2 separate regions of the Homo sapiens genome follow, and region 1 is linked to region 2. Evidence: promoter capture Hi-C in 16 types of primary human blood cells and fetal thymus (Javierre and others, 2016). All regions are on one chromosome and are shown on one strand. The core of a region is centred on a gene start or on the middle of the fragment in contact, and the rest is flanking DNA. Distances in the headings are between cores, read along the strand shown.

Region 1 (4,254 bases), core at 389-2,888, 1.6 Mb before region 2:
TAAAGATATGAAGTAAACATTTAATATATGAAGAGAACAATCCACTTGATAAAAATCCTCGCATTTCCAAAATGTTTTCATTTTAAGCATTTGCAGAAGTTAAATAAATGTAGCAGACATTCTAAATTCGATAAAAAATTCAGAGAACCCGACATTTTATGTACCCCAAAGGTCCAAACAGAACCGATGTAAATGTCAATAGCTGTCTCCCTTCCGGCTGATACTTAAATGGTTTTACTAGTACTCAAAGCAATGAAATCAGCAACTCTCTCTCCACACTCTAGTCAACACTCCAATTTCCAAAGCCGCAATTCGCAAACGTCAGTTGGGCGGGGGCGGTGGGGGATCTTGAAGTAATCCAAAAATTTCCTTTCCCCTTTGACAGTCCACCAAAAGATGTCAAACCAAATCCAGCCTATTGTAAAGCTCTGGGACCTCCCTTCCAAGGACACCGAACACAAGCTTAGACACCGCTGCGAAAAGCTGTCCAAAAGCGCCTGGCCGGACAGAAATGTAAGGAGCCCAGGCCAAAACGAATTAGAACCCCCAACAGAGGGTCCCGCAGACACCGCGGAAAAGAAGGTGGCATTTATTCCGGGGTAGACAGCTACGAACCAGTTACCCCAGCCAGTCTCTGGGGGCTCTCCAACCCAAGTTCAGGTTTATGGCAGATATATTGGTTGGGTGCCTTCCCCTACAAACATCACAGCCCGCCTCCGGGGCCCACCGCCGCTCACAGAGAAGACCCCTCAGCTTCACATCCGTTCCTTTTGCCCTCGGACAAAGGCAGAGGAGCTGTGGAGCTGACCCAGCGCTGTGGGGCAGTAAAAATGCCTTGTTCGGGCCACCCATCTTTGGGCCCGGCTTCATCTGCGATGTCAGCACCAAAGGTTTTTTTTTTTTTTTTCCTGGTTTTGTTTTGTTTTTACAACGCATCCTGGGCGGGTGTATGCATTTGGTGGTAGTGGGGTGGGGGGAACCGAACAGAGGAGGGGTTGGCAGTGAAGCCTGGGTTATAGAACTCTCCTTCCTCTCCCTCCTTCCAGGGTTGCCGTGCAGGGAGTGTCAGCCACGTCTAGCGCACAGTCCCAGGCCCCAGGGCGAAGGCGGCCAGGGGAAATGGGGCTCAGGGATTGCTAAGCAAACGCATCACTGGTGGTCTCCAGCGCCTGCGGAGGTAGGATCGCCTCTTTTCTTAAGGGGCGTGTTATTTTGTTCTCTTTTGAAAGTAGGAGGGGGTTCATTCGTTTCTCGCTGCGGGGGGTGGGAGAGAACGTTGCTGCACCGCCTGGGTCTCCAAGAGGGAGGGTGCGGGGATGTCTGCAATGGTACTATAATTATTCCTGGGCTGAGAGAGCAAGTAAAGGGGACGGGGCGAGCGTCACCTGGAGCTGTGGCAGTGGCAGCAGGGAAGGTCGCGAGGGGCTTACCCGGGCGGGCGGGCGCTGTCCTGCCGCAGGTGAGGGAGGGCGCAGGCTGGCGGGAGGGAGGGCGCGCGCGAGACAGGCGCGAGGAAGGGGGGAGGGGAGGAGGGCGCGCGCGCGCACACCTGTCCTGGACAGCGGCGCTAGCCGAGCTGCGCCTCACTTAGGCTCTGCGGGCTGAGGAGGAAGGAGGGCGGGCTGGCGGGCGGGGGCGGGACGCCGAGGGGAGGAGGAGGAGGCGGCTCGGATGGCTGGCTCGGCTCTCGCTCGCTCTCCCTCCCATGGGCAAGTCCGGCTCACACCCTGCTTCTCCCGCTCACTCACAGCCCCCTTGGCTCTCCCTCCTCCTCCTCCTTCCCCTGCGGGATCCGCTCGCCGCCGCCGCCGCCGCCGCAGACGGCAAGTCGTGGCAGCCAGACGTCGGCGCGTAACCCGGCGCTCCGTGCGTGACTCCAGGCGACGTCAGCGCGCGCTCCGCGTTCCCCACCCCTCCTCCCAACTCCGTGGCTCGCGCCCTTCGCTCTCGCGTCCCTCCGTTTTAGCTGCCGCCGCGGCGGCCGCCGAGCGCGCTCTTTCCGCCCCCTTCTCGCGCGTGAGCGCGCCCTATCGGCTCCTGGCGCGTCAACATTCCGCGGGCCAGGCCTTGGGGCGCGTCTGAGGAGGGGGATGTCTGTGGCCTCTCCGCCCACACTTCCTCCACCCACCGCCCACAGCGCCCCAGAAGGACCTATTACTCGTTTGGCTTCTGAAGGCCGAAGCCAGGCTCTGGCGGGGATAGAACCCTGAAGGGCCTGCGCCAGCTCCAACTTAGGGCCCTGTGCGTCGTTGCGACTTCTGCTACCACCCTATCACGCGGCACCCCCGCCCCAACTCCGCCCGGGTCTCTGAAGAGGCAATAGGCCTTTCATCTCCGGGGAAAGTCTCACCTTGGCCCTCAGACACCCGCCAAGAGGGGTCGGAAGGACAGAATTAGCATAGAGAAGAGTGGCTAGAGCACTTTTCAGGCTCTGGCCCCAGGAATCCTTGACAGGAAGCGTGGGGTTGCTGCCCAGCCTCCCACGCAGTGTAATATGTTGAAGCCGGGCCCCTTTGAGGGAATGCGACTTCCTTGGGCCGAGGGGGAAAGGGTAAAAGTTAATTTTCATAAAATGCTATGCAAGGGCTAAATGTGAAATTATAAAATGTCCTTTAAGACAGTCTTCTTGAAATCGTATCAAGTTTGACAAGATTTTTGGTGCACGGTAACGCTTTTGCTCGCTTTCTACGCTGTCACGTCTCCATCCTGCAACACTGAATACGTAGATGGAACGTGGATCAGCTAATAACTGCAGCAAAATAAAAACTGCATTTATCATCTTTATCATTATTTAAATAGACCTCCGAGAAGTCAAACTGTGATTTAGGAAAACTTAATCATTGCCTCAACCTATTTAACTATTTTGTTTTGAAGTTACTTTGCAAATATACCACAAAATCCCTCTTTGTTAGGCAGTGGTAGACTTTTAAACTCACTTGTTAGAGAATCTTTCCCAGAAGCATATCTAGTTGAGCCTGCGAGGCAAGTAGGACTAAGGTATAATTACTCCCATTTTACAGATGAAAATTTAGTTATCAAAATGTAAGTCAGTTGTTCAGCATTGTGAGGAGTCTATCACTGATAAAGGGAAAACTCTAAGGTCTATTATTGCCTGCTTTATTCACTAAACCAGAAATCTCTCAATTGTTTTTTTCCAAGTATCTTTTGCTGCCTCTTACGTATTGTAGGCAGTGCCTGATGGCTGAGAAGAATCGCAGAGGACTAGAAAAGGTTTGAGTCTGAAATTATCTGGCACAGAGGATTAAAGCTCAGAAATAAGTGATTGCGAAACAGTTCAACTTCCCTGTTAATGACAACAACAACAGCAACACGCTTATTAATTCCTAGCTGGAGGTGAGAAAATGAGACTGGCTTAAGGGTGATGGGTCATTTCCTTTGAATTGCTTCTTTATATTCACCTCATCTTTAGGTGGCAGCACTACTATATAAATATCCTTCGAAGTACAGTCTTCTGCATCTTAATATCCTAAAGGATATTCTGTCCTAAATGTTTCCAACTGTATTGTGGAGATTAGAAACTGGTGATTTAATGATCTAAAATCATAGCTGAGAATTAGAAAACTTGGAGGTTCTAGAGGAGGAAAAACAAAGGCTATCAGACACATTAATAAAATACATGGAGCTACGGAGGGAAAACATTAGAAAGTTTCAAGAAAAAAGTTTTTTAGGTGTATGAGGAGCAAGTAGCATCTCTTTAAACCTTGTCTTTTATTGAAACATAGGACAAGATAACCTTCCAAAGCAAACCATCCTTTCTCAGTACTGCATATTTATCAAGCATTTACAGGTTCGAAGTTGCTAGTTATATAGTTGCTTGTACTCAACTGTAATTTAAAAATTCCGATGCAGTTTTTCCTAATTAACAGCATCAAGCTTATGAAGATTTCCAAGACTTTATTGTTGACCCTTGTTGAAGAGAACTCTACTTGGCTTCTTTCCTGGCTTTCCTAAATTGTTCACATACAAGATAAACTACCGTCATTCAGACTTACAGAAGTGAGAAGACAAGCTGAACCAAATGTAAAATGGTAGCAATTTACAGGTAATTCTGTATCTTAATTTCTCCCACATTTTTAGGGTAAAAAATTGTGATATATGGGGGTTATTTGGATCAAGTGTTTTCTAAGTAGAACTTTGTCATAATTAATTTTATGTATTTATAGTAGTTCTCCCTGTGTCCCTTTATCCAAGCAACACAATACAATTGAATTTATATGCATTTCAAAATAGACT
Region 2 (4,453 bases), core at 572-3,071:
GCTGCTGGGTGCGGCTCTCCAGGCCCTGGAAGGGCTTCTGGTCTGGGGTGCCCAGGCCCAGATCCCCCTGCTGCTGTGGAAACAGGTAGTCGGGGATCATGGGAACCTGGAAGCCACCCTTGGCGGCAGGGTAGGCAGGAGGCGGGTACTGGAGCGCTGTCCCTGCCGAGCCCGGGAAGGCCTGGCTTTGTGGCTCAGGGAAAATGTCAGTGTTCGGCGTGGGGAAGGTGGGTGCCGCTGAGTAAATGGGACTGCTGTCGTTGGATGGCACTGCGCAGCTCAGGGGTGGGCTCTGGGAGGCGGAGGCGGAGGAGGCCGCTGGAGATGGTGCTGAGGACGAGGAGGCCGGTGGGTTGGTCATGCTCACTAGGCCACTGACCAAGCTGAAGAGGGGCTCGGGCCACAAGGTGTTGCCACTGTTGGGTGCAGGCTCCAGGGAAAAGCGGCCAGTATAGGTGATGGGGGGCAGTCGAGTGGTTTGGCTGGGGTAACTGGTCTCCACCAGCACCTTCTCGTTGTTCAGAGAGATGTCAGGAAAAGACTCTGGCAGGAGAGAGAGAAGCGGGAGGCCTGGTTACTGGAAAGCAATCACTGGAGGACGAGGACGACCCGAGCTGCCAGGCAAGAGACCGGGCCGGCTACCATTGACTCCCGAGGTAGTTAATAATTGATAGCAGCACATTGCAATGTTCCTGGACCCGCACCAGTGGCAGAGCCCATTTCAACAACAGCTGACGCAAATACGGAGAATCCCCCTCCACTGCAGCTCGCAGCGCTCCGCAGCGGCGGCTGTGCGGGCGAGGGATTCCCGCCAGCACCCCCATGGCCGCGGCTAGTGCGCGCCCCCAAACCCGGGCTGCCGGGACATCCACGGCCAAGGATCACGGTCCTTCCTTGGGGACAGGCGGCAAGCAAGGCAAGGCAAGTCTTACTGGAGGTGGGGGGCGCAGCCCCGCTCATCAAAACAAGCCCTCCCCCTCCACCCACCCACGCAGCTCCAGAGCTCTCCATCCAAAACAAAAGCTCGGTCCTCTGCGCTCCGCTAGGGATGAGGGCAGGGGGTGGGCTGTGTGGGGTTCCTTGGCATCCCTCTAACACATGACTCTGGGGATGCGAGGAATGAAAGGGAAACCCGGCTCTCATTCTAAGATCCAGGAGCACTCCTGCGGTGAAGGACAGGACGCCAGGATGGTGGCGAAAGGGTTCCCCCTCGGCGTAGGCCACTGCTTACCTGCGGTCAGGTGCTCGTAGGGCTGCTCGCCCGTGTCCGCCTGAGGGTTGAAGGTGCTGCTGCTGCTGCTGCTGTTGCTGCCGCCCCCGCCGCCTCCACCGCCCCCGCTGCTGCTGCTGCTGCTGTTGCTGCCGCTGCCCTCTGGGGCCCCGGCGGCGCCGAGGAACTGGGGAGCCCCGTTGCTCAGCAGCATCATCTCCTCCAGCTTAGGGTAGTTGTCCATGGTGGGCGAGTGAGGAAAGGATCCGAACGGGTCAGAGATCTGCAGCGGGGACATCAGCTGCATCTCGGCCTTGGCCGCGGCCATCCTGGACGAGCAGGCTGGAGAGCTGGTGTCGGGGCGGGGGGGTGCAGCCCGGGGCTGGAGCTGCAGGGGACACAGTTGCGGGGGCCTGGCCGGGTTACATGCGGGGCGCGGGGAACACTGAGAAGCGTGCAGGCGGCGACCCCGACTCGCCCTGGGCGCGGGCGGGCGTGGACGCGCCGCGGCTGCGGAGGCTGGGGCAGGGGCCGGTCCTGCGGCGGCGGAAGCTGGCTGCGGCGGCGGATGGCGGCGGCGGCTCCCCAAGTTCTGCGCGCTGGGATCTCTCGCGACTCCCCGGATCCGCCTCTATTTGAAGGGTCTGGAACGGCACGGGTCCGCCTCCGTCGTGACGTACATGGCCATATATGGGAAGCAGGAAGCCCTAATATGGCAGGACCGGCCGGGAGGACCCGGAGTGACGTGAAGCCCCCCATCCGACAGCGCCCGGCACCTCCATCCTGCACCCTAGGGCCCGCGCCCGCGCCCGCATCCCAGGCGCCCAGGCTTCGGGGAAGCCTAGAGCTCTAGCCGCCGCCGGGGCCTCCGGGACCCGCGCAGCTCCGGAGTTCCCGCGTTGCCCCTCCCTCCGCCTTCTTCCCTCCTCCCAGAGCCGGAAGCGGCCGGGCCATATCGGGCCACTCCAAATAAGGTGCTGCCCAAATAAGGGTTGTTCCGGCGGGGGATCCTTCCTGCTCCTTATATGGCATTTCCGGGTCGCAGCTGGTTGCTCCCTCGCTCCCTCCCTCCTCCCTGGTTCCAAGCCGGGAGCCCGAGCGCTCGCGGGATCCGGGGACGCCCAGGCGGGGAGGGCTCGTGGCGTGTGGCGCTGGGCGCGCGGCTGCTCAGGCGGCTCCTAGGCGTGAACTAGGCTGGGGAAGCCCAGACCCAGAGCGGGGGCGAGGGCGAGTCGGGCCGGGGTTCTATCGCTGTCATCCAGGGCCCGCCCGCCCACCTCAGGGACCGTGAGAGCGAACCGGGAGTGCGGGGGAGGAGCGGCTGGGCCCGCCTGGGCAGGGGCCGCCCAGGAGAGGCGGGGCCTTGACCCCGGGCCTCGATCTATGGCACGGTGTCTTTCCGGGTGTCGCTGGGAAATTGAGGATAGGAAGTCACGGCCACTTGGTTCTTGGGACACTGTATAGCAGTGAGCTGCCTTGCCTCTGCCACCTGTCGGTGGGATGGGGCTGCTGGTGCCTGGGGTCCCCTGTGCTCCCCCGGAACCGAAAGGCTGTTCCCTAGTCCCCGCCGGCAAAGAGCCCACCTTTGGGGGACCGAAGTGGGGAAGCTGATTGCCCCAAGAGAGGCCTGATTCTTGTTCTCACCAGGAGATAATGGTCCTTGTGGTGAGGGGTCACTTTCCCCCCTTTATCCAGTCCAGGTGGAGGGCCGGCCCACACTGCGGGAATCCGAAAGAGGGGCTTCCCTATGGGCTGTCTGGGGACCCCGGGCTGGGCGCGAAGAGAGGACCGGCTTGGCGGCTCGGTGCTGCCCCCTGGAGGTTCCCTCTCCACTCCCAGCCCCGGACTCCGGCCGCGCGGGCTCTTCCGCCGCCTCCTCGCTCCTCCTCCCGGATGCGGCGCTGGGCGCGGAGCCAGGCCGGGGGAGCCTTCGACGCAGTGAGCACGAACTGAGCAGGCGCTGCAGCCCGGGCTCCCCCTGCAGTCCCTGGGGAGCCGTCACTGCCGAGGCGCCCAGACTCCGGGATAACACTCCTCACCCCGAGCCTGGCCAAGGCGAGGGGGAGAAGGAAGCAGGGGGTGGGTGGTGGCGAGGGAGAACGATTCCCGCAGGTCTCCCTGGGGCCGAACGCGAACAGGGAAGCCCTCCCCGCCCCCACGACGCAGTCAGTTGCTCACCCCAAAGGGAACAGGGATTCCGGGAAGGGAAGGCTCCTCCTGCTCTAGCTCTGAATCCAGAGGAGGTGCTGTTTTTTCTGGATTTAAAAAGAAAGCAGAAAGAGAATGTGGGGAAGGAGGGTGCTTGACGACACCGAGAGGGAAGGGAGGAGGTGAGGGCCTCTGTGAACCCCAACAGCCTCTGGAGGTCGGGGTCAGGGGGATTAGGTGGGGGAGGGTGTAACTTTCTTGGACTTAATCCCTCTGTGGCTGTCCCCCCTCCAAACATGTTTTCTTATAAAAACCAACTTAATGAACCAGGACTCCCTCGTCTCGGAGCCTGCCGTCTCAAGTCCGCTGGGGAGGTGGGGGGCTCACTCCCACTGTCTACCGAGTTGTCCATTGGGGCAGGAGTGATGCGCCTCTCAGAGGACTCCTGCCGCAAGGGCAGGAAGGCCAGGCTGTTGCAGCGCAGATGGCCTTGTGTCTGAATGTCCATTTTGCCACTCCCTGGTAGGGTACCTTAGCCAAATTTTTTTTTTAATGTTTTTATTCTTTCTGAGACGGGGTCTCACGCTGGCACCCAGGTTGGAGTGCAGTGGCGCGAGCTCACTGCAACCTCCGCCTCCCAGGCTCAAGTGATCCTCCAGCCTCCTCCTCTCGAGTAGCTTGGACTACAGGTGCCTGCCACCACGCCTGGCTTTTACTTTTTTTTTTTTTTTTTTTTTTTGTATTTTCGTAGAGAGGGGTTTCGCTGTGTTGCCCAGGCTGGTCTTGAACTCTTGAGCTCAAGCGATTCACCCACTTCGGCCTCCCAAAGTGCTGGCATTCCAGGTGTGAGCCACAGCACCCAGCCAGCCAAGCTTTTTGTTTACTTGTTTGTTTTTGCTTTTTTTAAGACAGAGTCTCCCTGTGTCACCCAGGCTGGAGTGCAATGGGGCAATTTTGGCTCACTGCGACCTCCGCCTCCTGGGTTCAAGCTATTTTCCTGCCTCAGCCTCCCTAGTAGCTGGGACCACAGGTGCACCCCACCACACATGGCTAATTTTTGTATTTTTAGTAGAGACCAGGTTTCACCATGTTGGC

Evidence for each region. Contacts are between HindIII fragments. The CHiCAGO score rates a contact against its expected background, and 5 or more counts as called.
Region 1: the fragment with the promoter of MALINC1 here is called in contact with the fragment with the promoter of EGR1 in region 2 in 1 of 17 cell types (fetal thymus); the score reaches 6.0 in fetal thymus.

Annotation. Positions count from the first base shown.
Region 1 is chr5:140,105,396-140,109,649 of GRCh38, reverse strand. MALINC1 (mitosis associated long intergenic non-coding RNA 1) reads left to right here and starts at 1,638. Exons shown (of 4, transcript NR_102741.1): 1 at 1,638-2,241; 2 at 3,160-3,354; 3 at 3,888-4,063. LOC124900193 reads left to right here and starts at 381. Exons shown (of 4, transcript XM_047417990.1): 1 at 381-1,866; 2 at 3,189-3,354; 3 at 3,871-4,063. The coding sequence starts at 665. The coding sequence ends at 1,591. RefSeq lists enhancers at 827-1,328, 2,439-2,538 and silencers at 1,479-1,738, 1,749-1,808, 1,839-1,908. The HindIII fragment of the contact is 3,432 bases long and covers 465-3,896 here.
Region 2 is chr5:138,462,847-138,467,299 of GRCh38, reverse strand. It overlaps EGR1 (early growth response 1), which reads right to left and starts at 1,821. Exons shown (of 2, transcript NM_001964.3): 1 at 1,232-1,821; 2 at 1-543. The coding sequence starts at 1,538. RefSeq lists silencers at 1,568-1,777, 1,868-2,217, 2,228-2,627, 2,948-3,217 and enhancers at 1,083-1,922, 1,923-2,763, 1,836-3,035. The HindIII fragment of the contact is 6,642 bases long and covers 1-4,232 here.